7 separate regions of the Homo sapiens genome follow, and regions 1, 2, 3, 4, 5 and 6 are each linked to region 7. Evidence: promoter capture Hi-C in 16 types of primary human blood cells and fetal thymus (Javierre and others, 2016). All regions are on one chromosome and are shown on one strand. Each heading gives the region's core, a stretch centred on a gene start or on the middle of the fragment in contact. The rest is flanking DNA. Distances are from core to core; before and after follow the strand shown.

Evidence for each region. Contacts are between HindIII fragments. The CHiCAGO score rates a contact against its expected background, and 5 or more counts as called.
Region 1: a fragment that was not itself captured here is called in contact with the fragment with the promoter of CPNE9 in region 7 in 1 of 17 cell types (megakaryocytes); the score reaches 5.3 in megakaryocytes.
Region 2: a fragment that was not itself captured here is called in contact with the fragment with the promoter of CPNE9 in region 7 in 1 of 17 cell types (neutrophils); the score reaches 5.7 in neutrophils.
Region 3: a fragment that was not itself captured here is called in contact with the fragment with the promoter of CPNE9 in region 7 in 1 of 17 cell types (M0 macrophages); the score reaches 6.3 in M0 macrophages.
Region 4: a fragment that was not itself captured here is called in contact with the fragment with the promoter of CPNE9 in region 7 in 1 of 17 cell types (megakaryocytes); the score reaches 5.5 in megakaryocytes.
Region 5: a contact is called between a fragment that was not itself captured here and the fragment with the promoter of CPNE9 in region 7, in 1 of 17 cell types (megakaryocytes). The highest score is 5.5, in megakaryocytes.
Region 6: a contact is called between a fragment that was not itself captured here and the fragment with the promoter of CPNE9 in region 7, in 3 of 17 cell types (monocytes, neutrophils and M0 macrophages). The highest score is 5.5, in monocytes.

Annotation. Positions count from the first base shown.
Region 1 is chr3:9,524,898-9,527,829 of GRCh38, forward strand. The region is part of intron 2 of LHFPL4 (LHFPL tetraspan subfamily member 4); the gene reads right to left. Among named protein-coding and RNA genes, the nearest start is that of LHFPL4, 27 kb to the right of the region's middle. The HindIII fragment of the contact is 1,280 bases long and covers 665-1,944 here.
Region 2 is chr3:9,865,843-9,869,064 of GRCh38, forward strand. CIDEC (cell death inducing DFFA like effector c) reads right to left here. Exons shown (of 7, transcript NM_001321142.2): 7 at 872-1,454. The coding sequence ends at 1,292. Among named protein-coding and RNA genes, the nearest start is that of CIDEC, 13 kb to the right of the region's middle. The HindIII fragment of the contact is 177 bases long and covers 1,271-1,447 here.
Region 3 is chr3:9,927,412-9,930,309 of GRCh38, forward strand. It overlaps IL17RC (interleukin 17 receptor C), which reads left to right. Exons shown (of 19, transcript NM_153460.4): 10 at 755-809; 11 at 894-1,075; 12 at 1,169-1,219; 13 at 2,441-2,486; 14 at 2,617-2,738. Among named protein-coding and RNA genes, the nearest start is that of CRELD1, 5.0 kb to the right of the region's middle. RefSeq lists an enhancer at 952-1,451. The HindIII fragment of the contact is 6,275 bases long and covers 1-2,898 here.
Region 4 is chr3:9,478,238-9,481,150 of GRCh38, forward strand. No RefSeq gene overlaps it. Among named protein-coding and RNA genes, the nearest start is that of LHFPL4, 74 kb to the right of the region's middle. The HindIII fragment of the contact is 2,021 bases long and covers 525-2,545 here.
Region 5 is chr3:9,494,807-9,497,842 of GRCh38, forward strand. No RefSeq gene overlaps it. Among named protein-coding and RNA genes, the nearest start is that of LHFPL4, 57 kb to the right of the region's middle. The HindIII fragment of the contact is 1,197 bases long and covers 882-2,078 here.
Region 6 is chr3:9,903,077-9,905,776 of GRCh38, forward strand. IL17RE (interleukin 17 receptor E) reads left to right here. Exons shown (of 16, transcript NM_153480.2): 2 at 321-336; 3 at 956-1,075. Among named protein-coding and RNA genes, the nearest start is that of IL17RE, 1.6 kb to the left of the region's middle. RefSeq lists an enhancer at 1-645. The HindIII fragment of the contact is 3,209 bases long and covers 1-2,700 here.
Region 7 is chr3:9,702,140-9,705,405 of GRCh38, forward strand. It overlaps CPNE9 (copine family member 9), which reads left to right and starts at 1,694. Exons shown (of 21, transcript NM_153635.3): 1 at 1,694-1,925; 2 at 2,448-2,488; 3 at 2,610-2,656; 4 at 2,752-2,855. The coding sequence starts at 1,858. MTMR14 (myotubularin related protein 14) reads left to right here. Exons shown (of 19, transcript NM_001077525.3): 19 at 1-254. RefSeq lists an enhancer at 1,333-2,243. The HindIII fragment of the contact is 18,760 bases long and covers 977-3,266 here.

The DNA.
Region 1 (2,932 bases), core at 55-2,554, 180 kb before region 7:
GAGGGGAAGCATTCTATAGTCCTACAAAGAGGTCTCCGTCTTTTAGTGAGCCTTTGCCCTGGACTGTTAATTTCACAAATGCTTCTAAGTTGTTGCTGTTTTTTTCTTGCCCTCCTTAGGTGGGACAGCATGGCTAGAGGCAGATGGAGTTTCCTTCCCCCAAGATCAGTTAGCCTCTCTCTGATAATCCCAGCAGGTTAGGCTCTAGTCACCTAGTTTCTCCCAAGGACAGGCCTGGCATACATCAGAATTGTTCCTTTTTCCCTGCTCTTGCCAGAACCATGAGGGGATTTTTCTTCAATATTCACCGTAAGAACTTGGTAGAGCTTCAGGAAGTAAAACTTACAAAAGTGTGGGAGCCCCCCTAATGACTGGGTCCCCTGGGAGTTTTTAATGTCTCACACTTGTCCACACAGCCTCCAGCAATTTGTCAATTACAATTCAGTTTTCCCTTGCCTGGGCATTGGTTCCCATAAAGGTTTCTGCTCATGGGTTCCTTCTGCTCCTGTAAGTTGTGATTCTCTGCACTCACCTGTCTGTCGCTCCAATTTTGGGGGCAGCAGTTTGCCCTGTGACCTTACGTCTCTCATGGATCTAGCAAGAGTGTTTATTTTTCAGTTTGTTTGGCTTTTTACTTGCTGTTAGGATGGAGTAGCAGCTTCCAAGCTTCTTACATCCCTGACCAGAAACCAGAAGTCCACTCATCTGTGTTTTTTATAAAAAGGATATGCATACTATGAAATGCATTGCAACAATGAGAAAGAATGGGTAGCACTTTAAGGACTGAAAGAGCAAGATTTCTTTGACACAACGTCATCTGAAAAAAAGCAATCATAATTTTAAAAAAAATCCAACGTGCTTATACGTTTGAAAAAATGGGAAAAAATGGGAAACATGCCAGACACTGTTTTAACTGTTTTATGTGTATTAATTCATTGTTACCTCATTTTTATATGTTATGAAACAGGCACAGAAAGGTTAAATGATGAGTCTGACCTAGCCTTCCTGGGGCCTGAGTCCATGCTCTTAACTACCTCTCTTTTTCTGACATATTGAGCAGGTAGAAAGACCATACGTAGGCATGATCCCTTTAGTTTTAAAAAAAGTAGGGGATGGTATATACATACAATGAAATATATTGAACCTTAAAAAGGAAAGAAATTCTGACACATGATACAACATGGAGGAATCCTGAAGACACTTTGCTAGGTATATAAATAAGCCAGTCATGAAAGGACAAACACTGTATGATTCCATTTATATGAGCTACCTAGAGTAATCAAATTCACAGAGACAGAAGGTGAAATGGTAGCTGCCAGGGCTCGGGGGAGGGAGGAATGCGGAGTTAGTGTTTAATGGGCACAAAGTTTCAGTTTTGCAAGATTAAAAGAGTTCTGGAGATGGATGGTGGTAATGACTGAGCAATAATGTGAATGTACTTGATGCTAGAGAATTGTGCACCAAAAGACAGTAAAAATGATAAATTTTATGTCATGTGTATTTTACCACAATAAGAAAATGCGGGAAAAAAGAATGTCCCCGTACAAATCTGACAATAGTTTGAATAACTGTCTTTATTTTGCTCACAATTGTAGTCGGCTGTGGTCTAACATCCCTCATATCATCTCCCTCCTTCAAGCATCTCTTAAAATGATGGTGAATGTAATGAGTTTAATTGCGTTCCCTCAAAAAGATATGTTCAAGTCCTAATCCCTGGTACCTGTGAATGTGATCTCATTTGGAAACAGGGTACCTGCAGATATAATTAAGACACAAGACAAAATAAGGTCATTAGGGTGGGCTCTAAGTCCAATCACTGGTGTCCTTATAGGAAGAGAAGAGAAACACACACACACGTGAAGACCAGAGATTGGAGTGATGCTGCTGTAAGTCAAGAACACAAAGGAAGGCTGACAGCCAAAAGAAGGGAGATGAGATCAGGGAAGCTTCCCTCCCAGAGTCTGCAGGGGGCATGAGGCCCTGCCCACACTTTGATATTGGACTTCTTAGCCTCCAGAACAAGAATAAATTTTTGTTGTTTTAAGAAAAAAAGAAAAAAAAAGGTTAAAATGGTAAATTTCATGTACATGTATTTCACTGAAAGGAAGGAAGGAAGAGAAGGAGGGAGGGAAGGAGACAGAAGGAAGGAAAGGAAAGGGAAGGGAGAAAGAAGTAAGCAGGGGTACACAGAAGATGACATGATATAGTTTCCTTATGGATATATATGTAAATGTGCAGAAAAAGATCAGGGAAGATAGAAATGAAGTTTATAAGAGTGGTGGCCTCTGGGTGGGGCTTGGGTGGGGACTTTAGTCTTTTTGTAATATTTCAGCTTTTTACAGAGTGGGTATATTCATATATTACTTGTGAAATTTAAAAACATAATTTTGACCAGGCATCGTGGCTCATGCCTGTAATCCCAACACTTTGGGAGGCCAAGGCAGGTGGACCACTTGAGCTCAGGAGTTTGAGACTAGCCTGGGCAACATGGCAAAACTCTGACACTACTAAAAAAAATAATAATAATACAAAAAGTTAGTGGGCATCGTGGTGCATGCCTGTAGTCTCACTTATTTGGGAGTGCTGAGGTGGGACGATTGCTTGAGCCCAGGAGTCAAAATCAGCCTGGGCAACATGGTGAAACCCCATCTCTACAAAAAATTAGTCAGGCATGGTACAAGCGCCTGTAGTCTCAGCTATTTGGAAGGCTGAGGTGGGAGGATTGCTTGAGGTCAGAAGGCAGAGGTTGCAGTGAGCCAAGATCATGCCACTGCACTGCAGCCTGGGCAACAGAGCCAGATGTTGTCTGAAAAACAAAAACAAAACCCATATACAGTAGACTAGTGTGGCGGAATAATTTTTTTAAAAACCCAGAAAACCAATAATTGTACAAATTAATTTTTCAAATACAAACACACACACACACACACAC
Region 2 (3,222 bases), core at 109-2,608, 160 kb after region 7:
TACTGCCTCAGCCTCCCAAACAGCTGGGAGTACAGGCGCCTGCCATGCTGGCCAGCTAATTTTTTTGTTTTTAATAGAAACCGGGTTTCACCATGTTGGTCAGGCTGGTCTTGAACTCCTGACCTCAGGTAATCTGCCTGGCTCGGCCTCCCAAAGTGCTGGGATTACGGCGTGAGCCACCATGCCCAGCCTAAGTTCAGCCTTTCATGCTTGTCTTGAGTTGTCCAATACTGGAAAATGCCAGCTCACACTGATGAGAAGCTCCTACTCTTTGGGGCTACCTATGAGCCCACTTTGAAATCCCGAGGTTGAAAGTCCTGAACATGAAAGATAAGCTGTCTGGCAAGTTAGGATGGGCATTGATGGAGAAATGCCTTACAGCTTGAGTAGTACTTTTTCACCTAACCACTTAAACGGTTATTATAAAATGGGACACTGAGAAATTAGAAGAGTGACTTAATCCCACCTGCTCAATTGAAGCTCCTCTGATAGGTGAATTTAATTAGGAAATTGTTACTTATGGTATCAATTACATGGTCAGCTCAAGCCTCAAATTCAGCTGACTTTAGTTTCAAAATCAACTGCAATTTTGTTTTTTAAGGAGCCTGGGGTCTTGCTATTGTGCTCCAGCCTGGCCTTGAACTCCTGGTCTCAAGGGATGCTTCCACCCCAGCTTGCTGAGTATCTGGGACTGCAGGCACGTGTCACTGTGCCCAGCTGTTTTTTTTTTTCTTCTTTGGTAGAAAAAGTGCCATTAGCTGTAATCCTACATTAAAGAGAATACTTTGACAATAGATTCGTCTCTTCCTTTAGCCCCCTCCAACCTTCCAGATAAAACCCCACCCCAAAGAACACAGGCAAAGAAGATACATCAGCCTCAATAATTTATTGCAAACTCCCTAATATCACATGCTAGTGCGCTTGCGAATTCACTCAGGAATGTTCCGGGATGGGGGCCAGAAGGTAGAGAGCACCATGAAAGTACAGCCTGCGAGGCCAGATTGCTAAGGGGCAGACTTCATGCCAATGGAGGGACAGACTTCAGGACCAGTCTGGATGGGCTAAGCTGCCTTGGGCAGGAAGGAGCTGGATCAGGCCAGGAGCTTGAGGTTCTCCTTTGGCCAACCCACCCCAGGTTTCCAGCTCCTCCTCCTCACTCAGGGTCCTGCGCGGTGAGGGAGGTGTGGGGAGGTTCGCGGCTCTACAGCTGCCAGGCTTGTGGGCACTACCAGTTAAGCGTGAGGCCCCCAGTCAGTCCTTCACTGGGGAAAGCTTCCAAGGACTTGGGCTTTCACTGCAGTATCTTCAGACAGGTCGGGATAAGGGATGAGGCCTTGCCCTTGGGGGGCTGCCCTTCCTCCGTAGCATCGAGGAGCTGCTGCAGGTAACAGGAGGTGCCAAGCAGTACGTGGCCTGTGGCCTGCATGCTGAAGAGGGCCCAGCGGAAAGCTTCCCTGGGTGGAATGAGAGGGCACGCAAGTCAAAACCACGAAGTAGGTCGGGCATGGCGTTCACGCCTGTAATCCTAGCACTTTGGGAGGCCATGGAGGGCGGGTAACCTGAGGTCAGGAGTTTGAGACTAGCATGGCCAACATGGCGAATCTCTGTCTCTACTAAAAATACAAAAACTAGGCAGGCATAGTGGTGGGTGACTGTAATCCCAGTTACTCCAGAGCCTGAGGCAGGAGAATCGCTTGAACCCAGGAGGCGGAGGTCACAGTGAGCCGAGGTGGCACCACTGCACTCCAGCCTGGGTGACAGAGCAAGATTCAGTCTCAAAAAACAATCAAACAAAAAACACAAGGCTGGGCTTGGTGGCTCATGCCTGTAATCCTATAACTTTAGGTGGCCGAGGTGGGTGGATCATTTGAGGTCAGGAGTTTGAGACCAGCCTGGCCAACATGGCGAAACCCCGTCTCTACTAAAAAATACAAAAAATTAGCCGGGCGTGGTGGCAGACACCTGTAATCTCAGCTACTCGGGAAGCTGAGGCACGAAAATCACTTGAACCTGGGAGACAGAGGTTGTAGTGAGCTGAGATTGTGCCACTGCACTCCAGCCTGGGTGACAGAGTGAGTCTCTGTCTCAAAAATAAATAAATACATAATAAATAAAAACAAGAGTGTACCCCCTCCCTGCACCCCCTTATTCCCATGCTGGCCTGGAAGGGATTGGTTTCATTATGTTTGTTTTCTTCATTAATAACATTTGAATACCACTGAGGTGGTAGCACTAAAAGCATTTCATCAATTCTAGAGCGATGTGCAAATAGGAACAGATGCTGCAGATGGGATCAAGATTAGTGCGAGGACCTGCAATTCCACCTTAACTGAGATGCCCGGAACCTCCCTACTTTCTCATGCAAAACCCCAGCTCATTTCATAAGGCTTTTATTTTTCTACTACTACTTTGGACCAACCAGATTAATCTCCATAACATGGTTCTGCACCTTGAGACACTCTGTTCTAGACTCTGAGGCCTGTCCAAGCCACCTGCAGTCTAGCTCATGTTCAGAGTGCTGGACATGAAGACATCCATGCCTGGCATGAGCATGTACTGAGAACAGAACCTGAATCAGGCAGGCCTAAGTCCTAATCCAGTCTTATTAGCTGGGTGAACTTCAGCAAACTGCTCTAGCTTTGAGCTTCAGCTTCCTCATGGGTAAAATGGGATTGCACCTGCCACCCAGGGTCATAAGGCTGAAATAGCATAAAGCAATTAACATGGGGTTGGATGTTTGGAAAGTAGGGGAAATGGGGAAGCGGGAGCGGGTTCTAACCTCACATATTCTCATGCTTCTTGAGACATTTGGTTAGACTTTCAAAAATAAGTTTTAAGAAAAGTTCATTATATAGTACAAATGACTCTGGTCCATAAGACTTGCAAATTAATTCTGTCATATGGAGGGAAGATTATTTCATCCCTCCCATTCCCACAGGGGAAAAAGCCCAATTTTGTATGTATACATTTATCTCTCTTTTTCTTCGTTTTAGAGACAAGGTCTCATGCTGTTGCCCAGGCTGGAGTACACAGTAGTATGGTCATATCTCACTGCAGCCTCAAACTCCTGGGCTCAAGCAATCCTCCCACCTAGCTGGGATTATAGGTACATACTACCACTGCCAGCATTTTGTGTGTGTGTGTGTGTGCGCACACACGGGCGTGTGATAAAGACAGGGTCTCACTGTGTTGCCGAGGCTGGTCTCAAACTCATGGGCTCAA
Region 3 (2,898 bases), core at 238-2,737, 230 kb after region 7:
GCCAGGCATGGTGATGTGCGCCTGTAGTCCCTGCTACTTGGGAAGCTGAGGCAGGAGAATCACTTGAACCCAGGAGGCGGAGGTTGTGGTGAGCTGAGATCACACCACTGCACTCCAGCCTGGGCAACAGAGTGAGATTCCATCTCAAAAAATAAAAAAATAATAAAAATTTAATTATCCAAGGTCTCTTGTGCTTGCCATACTGCTAAGACACAATGGTAGGCACTCATTAAAAGTCTGTTGAATGGGCCAGGCGCGGTGGCTCACGCTTGTAATCCCAACACTTTGGGAGGCTGAGACGGGTGGATCACTTGAGGTCAGGAGTTCGAGACCAGCCTGATCAATGTGGTGAAACCCCATCTCTACTAAAAATACAAAAATTAACCAGTTAGCCGGCCGTTGTGGCATGTTCCTGTAATCGCAGCTCCTCAGGAGACTGAGATGGGAGAATCGCTTGAACCTGGGAGGTGGAGGTTGTAGTGAGCCAAGATTGCACCACTGCACTCCAGCCTGGGCGACAGAGCGAGACTCTATCTCAAAAAAAAAAAAAAGTTTGTTAATGAAGATGTTGCCAGTGCCCAGCATTATGTTTGCTGGAAGAATAGATGTGAGCACCTCCAGGTTTTGTAAAAGGCAGGAAGACCCAGCAAGTGTTTGTGAAATACCTGCTGAATGAGTGCATCCCCACTGTCCAGCAGAGGGCCAGGCACATGCCCATGGAGGGGACCTGAGCAGACCCCCATTTCCTTTCCAGGTGTGGCCTCTGGAACCTGACTCCGTTAGGACGAACATCTGCCCCTTCAGGGAGGGTGAGCCGACCGGCCTGGGGCTGGGGTTGGGGTGTTGCGAGCGATGGGTACCTGGCCTGCGGTGACTGTGCCCTTTCCTTGCAGACCCCCGCGCACACCAGAACCTCTGGCAAGCCGCCCGACTGCAACTGCTGACCCTGCAGAGCTGGCTGCTGGACGCACCGTGCTCGCTGCCCGCAGAAGCGGCACTGTGCTGGCGGGCTCCGGGTGGGGACCCCTGCCAGCCACTGGTCCCACCGCTTTCCTGGGAGAACGTCACTGTGGACGTAAGTGAAGCAGAGGGCACCTCCCGTGGTGAGGGGAGAGTGGGGAACCGGGGGTCCCCTTTTGTGATCCCACCCATTCCTCTCTTTCCACAGAAGGTTCTCGAGTTCCCATTGCTGAAAGGCCACCCTAACCTCTGTGTTCAGGTCAGAAAGGGGTGCATAGTGCTGGGCTGGAGGCTGGACCTGGGCAGACCCCCCAGCCAAGGGGGTCTTAGTTCTTGGGCCGCTAAAGCATAGTGGTTGCCAGCTTCCTCTATGGGAGTTCCACTGCCTACTTTAGTAGTGCGCGGGACCCTGGGCAACTCACTTCACCTCTCTGAACGTCAGTTTCCTCATCTGTTTAATGCAGATGATAATACAGTAACTACCTCATGGAGTGGTTGTGACAATGAAATAAGAGAAGTGCTTCCCCTTAGGAATCGGTACAGACTAAATGCTCCATAAATGTAGCCACTTTTATTATTGCTATCCTTATTCTATTTCCATACCTGTAGAATGGGTTGCTCTACAGTTTCAAAGGGTGATTATAAGAACATTCACTCATCCGGCCAGGCGCGGTGGCTCACGCCTGTAATCCCAGCACTTTGGGAGGCCGAGGCGGGCAGATCACGAGGTCAGGACATCAAGACCATCCTGGCTAACATGGTGAAACCCCATCTCTACTAAAAATACAAAAAATTAGCCGGTCGTGGTGGTGGGCACCTGTAGTCCCAGCTACTAGGAAGGCTGGGGCAGGAGAATGGCGTGAACCTGGGAGGCTGAGCTTGCAGTGAGCTGAGAGGGCGCCACTGCACTCCAGCCTGGGTGACAGAGTGAGACTGGGCGACAGAGTGAAACTCCGTCTCAAAAAAAAAAAAAATTCACTCATTCAAGATTTTTTGAGCAGCACAAGTCACTGTTTTAGGCACTTGTGATAGACCCTAACATCTCTACCCTCATAGAACTTATATTGTAATGGAGAAAGGCAGGCAACAGACATTGTAAATAAATCATATAGTATCTTAAAATTGCATACAAATACCATGGGAAAGGGATAAGGTGGGACTGGGGTTGCAATTTTTAGCAGGGTGGTCATGTGAGAAAGGAATCTCTTTGAGAAGGTTAGATGAGAGGGGAACCATGCTCCGTAAGACATAAAAACAGCTTTAGGGTCAGAAGACGCTTTATACAGATGATCTCACAAGGCTGGGGCAGAGAAAGATGTAGTGATTCCTAATCACCCAGCCTTGAATCCACATCTGCCTCAGGTCAGATTGAGTGCAGATTCCCAACCCAACAGGCCTTCTGTTGCCTGCCCCATTCTGGTCTTTCTGCCTTTGGCTTTTGCTTTTCTTAGTGGCCCTAACCATGGTCTCTTCCCAGCAGGTGAACAGCTCGGAGAAGCTGCAGCTGCAGGAGTGCTTGTGGGCTGGTGAGTTGGGCCTGGGGGCAGCTGGGGCAGGGCCACCTCCTAGGGGTGAAGGTCAGGGCATGGGAGGCAGGCAAGTGGCCAATCCCAGCAAGGATGGGTCTTGGTCAGAGTGGCCTCTCACCCCTTCCAGACTCCCTGGGGCCTCTCAAAGACGATGTGCTACTGTTGGAGACACGAGGCCCCCAGGACAACAGATCCCTCTGTGCCTTGGAACCCAGTGGCTGTACTTCACTACCCAGCAAAGCCTCCACGGTTAGGACTGGGCGACCCTCCTCCACAGATCTCTCCAAATGCATCTCACATCTGGCCTCAAATTTTCACTCCATCCACCCTGTGCCGGTCTCTGGGAACATGGGGGGTGACTCAGACCAGGGCCATATTCAGCGGCATCACCAAAGTCTCCCAGTCCCCT
Region 4 (2,913 bases), core at 285-2,784, 220 kb before region 7:
TTGTTTTGCCCATGATAATGGGGCCAGGAATACTGTCTGATCTTCCTTCGCTTTTTATGATTGCAGTCAGGACAGTGTGAAGGCAAACCTGCAGCAGGGCAAGTGAACATTAAAAACTGCCTTGAACTTGAGTGGTGTTCCTGACCTTGGCCTCATTCATTCAGCAACTATTTATTGGTCTTTTTCATTCAAAAACAATGCTGGACATTGTTTTTGGTGCTGGGCTTATGGTGATTAGAATGCTGATTGGGGGTGGGCAAAGTAAGGTCTCTTCTTTCATGGAGTTTACATTCTAGTGGAGGAGAGAACTAAACTAGTATATAATTTTAAATAGTCATTGCCATGTTAATTGTTTCATAGCAGATATGTGACTAAGACAGTTGAAGGAGCCACTCTAGATTGGTTGGTCAAGAAAAGTCTCTGAGGAGTTGACATTTAAACTGAGACTTCAGTGACAAGGAGGCAGTCCTGGGACGATGTGAGTGAAATTCATTCTTGAACGTTGCAGACTCTGTGGTAGAAAAAGCTTGGTTAAGATGTAATAAATGGATGGGGCTGGGAAAGAGGATAGAAGATCCTGTAAGAGGGAGATAGGGGACAGATCATGTAGAGCAGGAGTCGGCAAACTCTTTCTATAAAGGGCCAGATAGTAAATATTTAGACTTTGCAAGCCATGTATGGTCTCTGTCATAACTATTCAGCCCTTTGGCTGGGTGCGAATCATGCCTGTAATTCCAGCACTTTGGGAGGCCCAAGAGAGCAGATCACTTGAGGTCAGAAGTTCGAGACCAGCCTGGCCAACATGGCAAAACCCTGTCTACTAAAAATACAAAAATTAACCAGGTGTGGTGGTGCGCACCTGTAATCCCAGCTACTCAGGAGGCTGAGGCAGGAGAATCTCTTGAACCTGGGAGGAGGAGGTTATAGTGAACCAAGGTCACTCCACTGCACTCCAGCCTGGGTGATGGAGCGAGACTCTGTCTCAAAAAAAAAAAAAAAAAAAAAAAAAAAAACAACTATTCAGCTCTTCCATTGCAGTGCAAAAGCAGGCATAGACAGTATGTGGCTATGTTCCAATAAAACTTTATTTACAGGAAACAAGTGGCAAGTTGGATTTGGTTTGCAGGCTGTAGTTTGCTGGTCTCTAATGTAGAACCTTGTAGGTATAATTTAAATAATCTGCATTCAGTAAGTACAGTGGAGGAGTCATTGCAGGATTTTAAGGAGAGAAGTGACATTGTCTAATTTATATTTGGTTGATTTTTAAAAATTACTCTGATTGTTTTGATCCTGTTGGTGAAGAGATGAATAGGAGCTGAGAAACTGGTGTGGAAGGTAGAGCAGTTGTTCAGGCAAGCAACAATGCAGTGGTGGCTTCTATTAAGACGGTAATGATGGGGATAAGAAGTGATTGGAGTCAGGATATGTTTTGCAAGTACACAGCAGAACTTGCCAATGGATTGAATTGGCAGTATTCTAACATTTGTTTGACAAATGTTTACTGAGTAACTAAGGTAGACTGCAGTTTGCAAAGCACATAAGGGATTCAAAGATGAAGATGCTATTTATTAGTTGAAGGAGTTTAGAAATGGAAGGCTGGGCGTGGTGGCTCATGCCTGTAATCCCAGCACTTTGGGGGGCCAAGGCAGGCGGATCACAAGATCAGGAGTTTGAGACCAGCCTGAACAACATGGTGAAACCCTGTCTCTACTAAAAATACAAAAATTAGCCGGGCGTGGTGGTGCGTGCCTGTAATCCCAGCTCCTTGGGAGGCTGGGGCAGGAGAATCGCTTGAACCCAGGAGGCAGAGGTTGCAGTGAGCCGAGATCGTGCCACTACACTCCAGCCTGGGCGACAGAGCGAGACTCCGTCTCAAAAGAAAATAGAAAGTGGAAACATAACAAAACCACTTGTTTTATTAGAAGATCCCTCCAAAATGCCCTAGGAATACCTAGGTAACCTACCACCAACCACAACCTGATTCTACCTGGGTTAGGAAGAGAATAGTGTGCATGATCTTTAGAAAGTGTTTCCATATACAGTGTCTTATTTTGACTCATAATTCTGTGAAGAAAGCAAGCCAAATGCCAGAAGTTAAAGATGAGAAATTGAGACCTAGTACAGTGTTTCAGCTATAGCACTGGGCTTCTGATAATGAATAAAACTAACTGATTTCTGCCATAATTGGAAGGTTCTGTTCCATGACCATTGGCTGAACACCTACTGTGTGCTAGGCTATATCTGAGGTGCTGAGAATATCAAGGTAAGACAGTCAACTGCCCATTCAGAGTTAACCTATTTGCTATTCTTTTCAAGTACTTACTGTGTTGCTAGGGACTTTGCTTTTGATATGGTGTAAATCAGAGGTGTCCAATCTTCTTGGCTTCCCGGGGCCACACTGGAAGAATTATTCAACATGTAAAATACACTAACAATAGCTAATGAGCTTAAAAATATATATATATTTTAAGAAAGTTATGATTGTGTTAGGCCGCATTCAAAGCCATCCTGGGCCACGTGCAGCCCGTGGTCTGTGGGTTGGACAAGCTTGGTGTAAATAGAAGCTAGACAATATTAATTAAAGAGGCCAGTGCAACAGTGGCACCTTCTATGTCACTTTACACTTTCCTGGACTCCACTTAAGTCATCAGCTACCTCATTTACATGTAACAATGTGCAAGGTAGGTATAAGTTCAGAAGATACAACTTATTCAAGATTTCTCTCTTTTAAGTGGCAGACCCAAACCAACAGTTTTGGAAATTTTGCAGTTAACCCAGAAAACAAATAGAAACAGCTAGAGATGCTGTGACACTATGACCAGAAATCACTTACCTAGCTGAAAAAGTATATGGTACCCTTTACTGTCTTAAAAACAGCAGTCTGGCCCTTTTGCCCCCCAGGTGTCAGTTTGA
Region 5 (3,036 bases), core at 230-2,729, 210 kb before region 7:
CAAATCCAATGGACACATTTTTCAGTCTCTTATACAGGACCTCTGTGCTCGACTTGACCAGCTGACTTTCCCCTTAAACTCTACATCCTTGGTTTCTATAAAGCCACACTCATGATTCTCCTCCTGACCCCTCTCCTTTGTGGACATCTGTTCCTCTGACAGTGCTTTATCCTGCAGTGCTCTCCAGCATTCCAGAGCTCCATGCTCTCTCCACACCACACAGTCGCCCAGAGCAGGCTCCTCTATGCTTCCAGTTTCCACCACTACCTGGATACCGATGCTTCTGACCCAGATTTTTCTCTTGAGCTCCCAAATCCATATGTCAGCTGACTGCTGGACAACTCCACCAAGGCATCTCACATGCATCTTAAACTTAGCACATCTCAAACGGAACTGATCATCTTGCTCCCCTGCTATACTGGCAGATCTTTCTAGTCCCCAAGCAAAAACTTTAACCCTCTTTTTGCCAGCCTGTGTGTTATTCCCATAGTCAGTTGGTTCCCTTCTACTTCCTGAAGATGGAACTTCTTACTTCTCTTAGACCCACTGCGACCTCCTTGTTTCAGGCCAGGCTTCTGGTTTCTCTTTTACTGAAGTGGTCTCTGATATGGTTTCGCTGTTTGTCCCCACCAAACCTCATGTTGAAATGTCATCCCCAGTGTTGGCGGTGGGGCCTGGTGGGAGGTGAGTGGATCATGGGGGTGGGTCCCTCATGAATGGTTTAGTGTCATCCCCTTGGTGATGGGTGAGTTCTCGCACAGTTAATTCACACACATGAGATCTGGTTGTTTAAGAGCCTGGGACTGCCCTCTTCTCTCTGTCTTGCTCCTGCCCTTGCCGTGTGACACGCTGGCTTCCCCTAACCTTGCACCATGATTGTAAGCTTCCTGAAGCCTCACTAGAAGCAAATGCCAGCAACATGCTACCTGTACAGTTTGCAGAGCCATGCGCCAAAATAAATCTCTTTTCTTTATAAATTGCCCAGTTTGGCCAGGTGCAGTGGCTCATGCCTGCAATCCCAGCACTTTGGGAGACTGAGACAGGAAGATTGCTTGAGCCCAGGAGTTTGAGACCAGCCTGGGTAACATAACAAGACCCCGTTTCTATAAAAAATTATAATAATAAGGCCGGGAGCAGTGGCTCACGCCTATAATCCCAGCACTTTGGGAGGCCAAGGTGGGTGGATCACGAGGTCAAGAGATCGAGACCATCTTGGCCAACATGGTGAAACCCCATCTCTACTAAAAATACAAAAATTAGCTGGGCGTGGTGGTGCACGTGTGTAGTCTCAGCTACTTGGGAGGCTGAGACAGGAGAATTGCATGAACCCGGGAGACAAAGGTTGCAGTGAGCTGAGATCATGCCACTGCACTCCAGCCTGGCAACAGAGTGAGACTCCATCTCAAAAAAAAAAAGAGATAGCCAGGCATGGTGGTGCCTATGGTCCCAGCTACCTGGGAGAATGAGGTGGGAGGATTGCTTGAGCCTGGGAGTTGAGGCTACAGTGAACTGTGATCTCACCACTGCACTCCAGCCTGGGTGACAGAGCAAGACCCTGTCTCAAAAAAATAAAAATAAATTATGCAGGCCAGGTGCAGTGGCTTATGCCTGCAATCCCAGCACTTTGGGAGGCTGAGGCGGGTGGATCACTTGAGACCCGGAGTTTGAGACCAGCCTGGCCAACATGGTGAAATCCCATGTCTACTAAAAATACAAAAATTAGCCGGGTGTGGTGGTGCACACCTGTAATCTCAGCTACTCAGGAGGCTGAGGCAGGAGAATCACTTGAATCAGGGAGGCTGAGGTTGCAGTGAGCTGAGATTGTGCCACTGCACTGCAGCCTGGGCAACAGAGGGAGACTCCATCTCAAAATAAATAAATAAAACAAATGATGCAGTCTCAGGTATGGCTTTATAACAATGCAGAAATGGGCTAACAGTCTACCCCTAATCCAGCCCCCTAATGCTACCACCAGAGTGCTCTTTCTAAAATGCAAATTGAGTCATTTTTCCTTCTGCTTCAAATCCTTCAGTGGTTCCCCATTGCTCTTAAGTCCAAACTCCTGTCCATGGCCCCCAAGCTTTCTCATGGTCTGGCCCTCGCCTGTCTCTCTAGACTCATCTCTGACTCCTCCCTGCCTCGTACTTCACATTTCAAACTAAGTTGCTTTTCGTCCTCCATACACAGTTCTGCTGCCTACCTCAGTCTTTTTCCTCAAGCTGCCTTCTCTTTGACCTTCCTGACCCCTCCTGCCTAACTTCTCATCCTACAGCAAGACCTCCTCCTACGCTGCCCACGTCACCAAAAGCCATTTAAAGTATTCCTGCCTAGGATACCCACAATACCCTGCATGTGGCAAGTCATGCGTTATTTTCACATGTTCATCTCCCCAACCAGAATTATGCTTAAGACAGCATCTCTGTTTTGCTCATTTTTTTTCTAGCTTAAGTGCTTAGCATACACTAAGTGCTTAAAATGTGTTGGAAGAGGACTCCATTTCCAAGTCTTCAATGTAGCTACCTGGTACTGCGCACATTACAGCGTGCCAGATACCCTGCAGAGCAAAGTGCATATATTCCCTGGTATGTTGCTTACAGCTTCCCTTGGGGGAGTCACTATTGTTTTCTCTATTTATTCAATGGGGCTTTAGAGAGAGGCAAAGTGACTGGACTGAGCACTCTGGCTAGAGCAGATGAGGCTCTACTCTTTTCTGCCTGTATGGACTTGGACAAGTCGTGCCTGTGCTGTCAGAGGTGTGCAGAGATTACTGTATCCCTCTCTCTATTCACTCCTTTCTCCTTTGTATCAGAACCCTATTTTTTTTTTTTTTTGAGACGGAGTCTTGCTCTGTTGCCCAGGCTGGAGTGCAATGGCGCCATCCCACCTCCCTGCGACCTCCGCCTCCTGGGTTCAAGCAATTCTCCTGCCTCAGCCTCCTGAGTATCTGGGATTACAGGCACGCACCACCATGCCTGGCTAATTTTTGTATTTTTAGTAGAGACAGGGTTTTGCCATGTTGACCAGGCTGGTCTCAAA
Region 6 (2,700 bases), core at 1-2,500, 200 kb after region 7:
TGCCAGGTAGGGACACCTGCCTGGCACAGCCATAAAGCTCCCCACTCCCCTGCCTGCCCTGTGCTACCTCCGCAGTCCCTGTGCTCTGGTGGCAGCTTTGATGTGTCCTCTACCTAGTCTCAAAGGGGTAGCCAAGGTCCTTTGTGCTGAGGGCCTGGACAGGGTGGAGCTGGGAAGATAAGAGCCAGAAGGTATGGGCTATTAGCTATGGGGCTCAGAATTTGCTGATTTGAAGCAAAGACCCCAGGAATGTGCCTTATGGGAGTCTCTCCTAATAATAGCTCTTTCCTTTCTTTTCCCTACTGGGCCCTGTGCCTCAGGATGACAGTTTCACTGGTGAGTCGCATTTCCTGCCCCATTGCTCCTCCCCACGCCCACTATTTTTGCAGATGCCTAGCAAGCCCTCCATTCTAATTTTCAGTTCCCAACCCGGGAAGTAGCACAATATCAAGGAAAAATTTGGAATCATGACAAGCCTGGGTTCACATTGCAGTTCTGCCAGACTCCCGTGTGGCCTCAGACTGTGCACCTAACCCCTCCAACTGACCCTCAGTTTCTGAGGGGTAGTAGCATAGTAGAAATGATTGTACACTAAAGGCAGTGTTGCTTCTGATCTGTAGAGAGGATTAGATGAGAAACATGAGTAAATCTCCAGGTTCTCCATATATGTTGGCTCCTCCCCTTAACTGATCCCTCACTTCTATCAGTAATACAACAATAATCCTTCCTATTTTATGGTATGTTCTACTTCACAAGACATTTTCCCATACACTACAATTTTGATTTTTATAACAGACCCGCTTTATGAATGAGGAATCTGATCCTTAGACAGGTCCTGTAACCCCCAAAGTCATACTTCCAGGATGTGACAGAGCTTGGCCTCAAATCCAGCTTGTTGGAGGTAGGAGGGACCTTCTTAGACCCTATCATTTGCTTTCCCTTCCATCTTTCCCAGGAAGTTCTGCCTATATCCCTTGCCGCACCTGGTGGGCCCTCTTCTCCACAAAGCCTTGGTGTGTGCGAGTCTGGCACTGTTCCCGCTGTTTGTGCCAGCATCTGCTGTCAGGTGGCTCAGGTATGAGAAACAGCCCCTTGGGCCATTCTCAGTGAAGAGAACATTTTGAGGGACCACCTAGGCTGAGCAAGTGGGACTTACTAGAACAGATATTTGTCTTGTTTTAACCTCAACTGGGACTTGGATTATCCTAAAATAGCACGCTATGACTGATATTCACAAATACAATTGTACAATTTTATGAAGGTTTTTTTTCAGCTGAGATTCTTGGAATTAAAAGCTATGGATTTATTGTTATTACCATCTATTTGTAGAGCAGGATCTTCTTTCTTACTCTATATTTTAATTGCTCAGCTCAGTGCCTGGTACATACTAAATGCCCTTACATTGCTTAAGAATTGGCAGTTTCTAGGCCAGGCGCGGTGGCTCACGCCTGTAATCCCAACACTTTGGGAGGCTGAAGCAGCCTGATCACCTGAGGTCAGGAATTCGAGACCAGTCTGGACAACATTGTGAAACCCCTGTCTCCACTAAAAATACAAAAAATTAGCAGGGCCTGGTGGCAGGCACCTGTAATCCCAGCTGCTCAGGAGGCTGAGGCAGGAAAATCACTTGAACCCAGGAGGTGGAGGTTGCAGTGAGCCGACATCATGCCATTGCACTCCAGCCTGGGCGACAAGAGCAAAACTCCATCTCCAAAAAAAGAATTGGCAGTTTCTGGGCCAGGTATGATGGTTCACACCTGTAATCCCAGCACTCTGGGAGGCCAAGGTGGGTGGATCGCTTGAGTCCTGGAGTTTGAGACCAGCCTGGCCAACATGGCCAAACCCCATCTCTACAAAAAAATACAAAAATTAGCTGGATGTGGTAGTGCACACCTGAAGTCCCAGCTACTTGGGAAGCTGAGGTGGGAGGATCACCTGAATTCAGGAGGTGGAGGTTGCAGTGAGTTAAGATAGCGCCACTGCACTCCAGCCTGGATGACAGTGTGAGACCCTGTCTCAAAAAAAAAAAAAAAAAAAAAAAAAGAATAGGCAGTGTTTAATTTTTCTAATTGTTTGTTGTTAGAAATAATGCTACAGGGCTGGGCACAGTGGCTTATGCCGGTAATCCCAGTACTTTGGGAGGCTGAGGCGGGCAGATCACCTGAGGTCAGGAGTTTGAGACCAGCCTGGCCAACATGGTGAAACCCCGTCTCTACTAAAAATACAAAAATTAGCCAGGTGTGATGGTGCATGCCTGTAATCCCAGCTACTCAGGAGGCTGAGGTGAGAGGATTGCTTAAGCCCAAGAGTTCAAGACTGCAGTGAGCAGTGATTGTGCCACTGCACTCCAGCCTCCATGACAGAGCAAAATCCTGTCAAGAAAGGAAGGAAGGAAGGAAGGAACGAAGGAAGGAAGGAACAAAGGAAGGAATGAAGGAAAGAAAGAAAAGAGAGAGAGGCAGGGACTGGCGTGGTGGCTCACGCCTGTAATCCCAGCACTTTGGGAGGCTGAGGTGGGCAGATCTTGAGATCAGGAGATCGAGACCATCCTGGCTAACATGGTGAAACCCCGTCTCTACTAAAAGTACAAAAAATTAGCTGGGCGTGGTGGCAGGCGTCTGTAGTCCCAGCTACTCTGGGGGCTGAGGCAGGAGAATCGCTTGAAGCCAGGAGGCGGAGATTGCAGTGAGCCAAGATCGC
Region 7 (3,266 bases), core at 444-2,943:
TTTTCCAACCCCCAGCCTCTTGACTGGTGACCACCACCCCTTCTTGTCACTGTCTCCCACCCACCCCATCTTTGCTGGGATTCCCATCAACTCTCAGAACTGTGTGGGGTTTCCCTGGGGCCTTGTGGAAGCCATGACTTCACAAAGACCCTACCTGTCAGTTCTTGTTTCTGGGGAGGAGGGATCACCTGCACTGAGAATGAGGCAGTTTGACACAGATCACAAAATAAAATCAAAGTCTTTTTGAATAGCCACTCTTGTGTCATCATTTGGTTATTGTCTTTGTGGAGCTACTAGGAAGGTTCTCATTGTCCTTCCTTGTGCTGGACAAGGGGTTTTTATGTGGAGGGCAGGTGAAACAGGAAGAGAACTGGCGACAGGTATACCTCTCCACTCATGAGCCATGGTAGTCCCTGCAGTGGGGACAACACTCAAGACTGTTGAGAGTAGTGGTTCTCGGGCCTAAGCAGGTCCTAGTCACCTAGAGAGCCTGATGAGCTGTGCACATTCCCAGGGCTGCCTGAGCTTTAGCCTTAGGGTTGCTAAGGAAGTTGCCTGGGAATTAGGAGCTGGAGGATCTTCATTTTTTTCAGATTTTTTGAGATGGAGTCTCACTGTTACCCAAGCTGGAGTGCAATGGCACAATCTTGGCTCACTGCAACCCCTGCCTCCTGGGTTCAAGCGATCCTCCTGCCTCAGTCTCCTGAGTAGCTACGTGAACGTGCCACCATCCCCAGCTAATTTTTGTATTTAGTAGAGATGGGGTTTCACCATGTTGGCCAGGCCAGTCTCAAACTCCTGAGCTCAAGTGATCTGCCTGCCTTGGCCTCCTAAAGTGCTGGGATTACAGGCATGAGCCACCGTACCTGACCAGGATCTTCATCTTTAACAAGTTCTGTAGGCAGCAGGGTCCTGGTACGGGTGACCTGCATCCCCTACCTTGAGCCCTGCCTATGGAGGAAGGACTGGCTTCTGAAGCTTTGGAGATAGCAATTGGTGTGCATGTGTGGTGGGTGAGAGCCTGGCTGACCACCACCCTCTTCTACAGTGTAACCTACAGTAGATTGCGTCATGAGAGTGTGTCCGCATCTGTAACGCCATGAAAGTCGTGAGGGTTAAAGGCATGGGCAGACAGCTTTGCACGGTGCTCAACAGCCACCATTTACTGTCATCATTGTGAATACCCAGAGGACAAATCATAAATACCAGTGAATGTTTACTGAGCACTTGCTGTGTGCTAAGTGTTTTCCTTGGGTTATCTCAGTAAAATTTTACAGCACCTAAAGTAGCTGCTGTTAAAGGCCTTTCTGACGGCCTTTCACGGTTGAGCCACAGAGATGTTGAGTAACTTGTCCAAGGTCACACAGCTACTAAGAGATGTACTTTTCCTATTCAGAGACCTAGGCAGGCTGGGAGTGGGAAAAGACAGAAACACTAAGGGAGTGGCTCAGTAAGAGGCAACAATTCCAGTGCCCACCAGGTGCCCCAAATGTTTCAGCATCATGGACAACTCTAGGGGGCTTGGGTTTCCACCCCAGAGACTTGCGCAGGGCAGACTCTACCAAGGTGTGGGTTGGAGTTGGGAGTCGGGGTGAGGTTCCCCGCTGGCTCCAGGCTGCTCCAATGGGGCGGGGGCCGCCCGCAGGGCCGGGCGGGGCTGTGCTGCCATCTGGAGCCGCTGCCGCCGGCGGCCACTGTCAGGGCGCGAGCGGCTGGAGCGCACGCAGGGCTGGAGCGAGTGCAGCCGCCGCCGCCGCCGACACCGCGGCACATGGGCCGGCCCCGCCGCTGCCGTCGCCCCTAGCCCCAGCAGCCCTGGTCTCGCAGCCTCCTGCGGCTCTGGTCGCCCGACCAGCCATGTCTCTCGGCGGAGCCTCCGAGCGCAGCGTCCCGGCCACCAAGATTGAAATTACCGTGTCCTGCCGGTGAGCGGGCCGCGCTGGGGAGGGCTTAGGCACTGGCACTGCCCCAGCCCCAGCCAGCCGCGGGGCTCAGCCTGGGCAGGGGCTAGACCCCCGGGGAGAGGCGAAATTGGCTGGAAAATCACAGCTGATGACAGGGCGAGTAGCTGGTGGGATCGAGAAGCGGGGGGTCTTGGGCAGCCCCACCCCGAAAAAAGGGCTCAGCCTGCGGGTTCAGGGGGTGGGTCGCAGATATCCGGTAGGAGCTCGGCCCCAGGAGGACAAAGTTCTGGGGCGAGCCCTCTTTCCTGGGCCCTTGGAGACAGTGTGGGTGCGTTCGCGTCCAGTCCGCAGAGCCATGGTTCCTGGACAGCGATTTCCGGTGCTGTCCAGAGTGCTGACAGAGCGGACCCCGGCTGGGGGTAGCCATGGGGGACAGAGGTTCGATGCGGGCCCCATGCCTCTCCTCAGTGCCCGGCTCAGAGCCGACTCGAGGCGGGCGGACTCCAGGATGATCCACTCTGTCTGTCTGTTGCTTTTCTCTAGGAACCTGCTAGACCTTGATACCTTCTCCAAGTCCGACCCCAGTAGGCGGCTCCAGGACCGGGAGGGGGAACTTGGGGTCTGGGCGCGACTCAGGGGCGGGTGGAGTCGGGGCCAGGGGTGGGAGCCGACCTGACGTCCTTCCCTCCCCGCCCCCACCTGCAGTGGTGGTGCTTTACACGCAGAGCCGGGCCAGCCAGGAGTGGCGGGAGGTGAGTCCCAGAGCCCCCTCCCGGCCCAGGGCGTCGCCCGGGAATTCCCCTGCCCGTCTGCACGTCCCACGCTGACCCTCCACCCCCCTACCCAGTTCGGACGGACCGAGGTGATTGATAACACGCTGAACCCAGACTTCGTGCGCAAATTCGTCCTCGACTATTTCTTTGAGGAAAAGCAAAATCTGCGCTTCGATGTGTGAGGCCCCGCCTGGAATTCTGGCTTGGCCCGCCCCCGACCTGGATCCGCCCGGAATTCTGGCTGGCCCCACCCCCGCCTCGCCTCCGGCCTGGTTCTTCTCGCAGGCCTCCCTCCCATTCTGAATGGCCCCCTCTAGCCTGAGCCCTGCCCTTTTATGAGATGCGGTCCAGTTCCGTCCCCCGCTCTGGCCCCGCCCACAACTCTGCTCCTATCGCAGCTCCACCTCAGGCCCGACCCCTTCCACACAACCCTGCCCCCAGCAGCCCCTGACTTGGCCTCGGCCCAGGCTTGACCGTCTGACTACTCAGCCCACCCTGACTCCTCCCCAAAAGGAGACCAAAGCTGAATTCGGGTCCACGGCCGCCCATCCCTCCACCCAAAATTTTCACCAAGACTCGGTGCCCGACC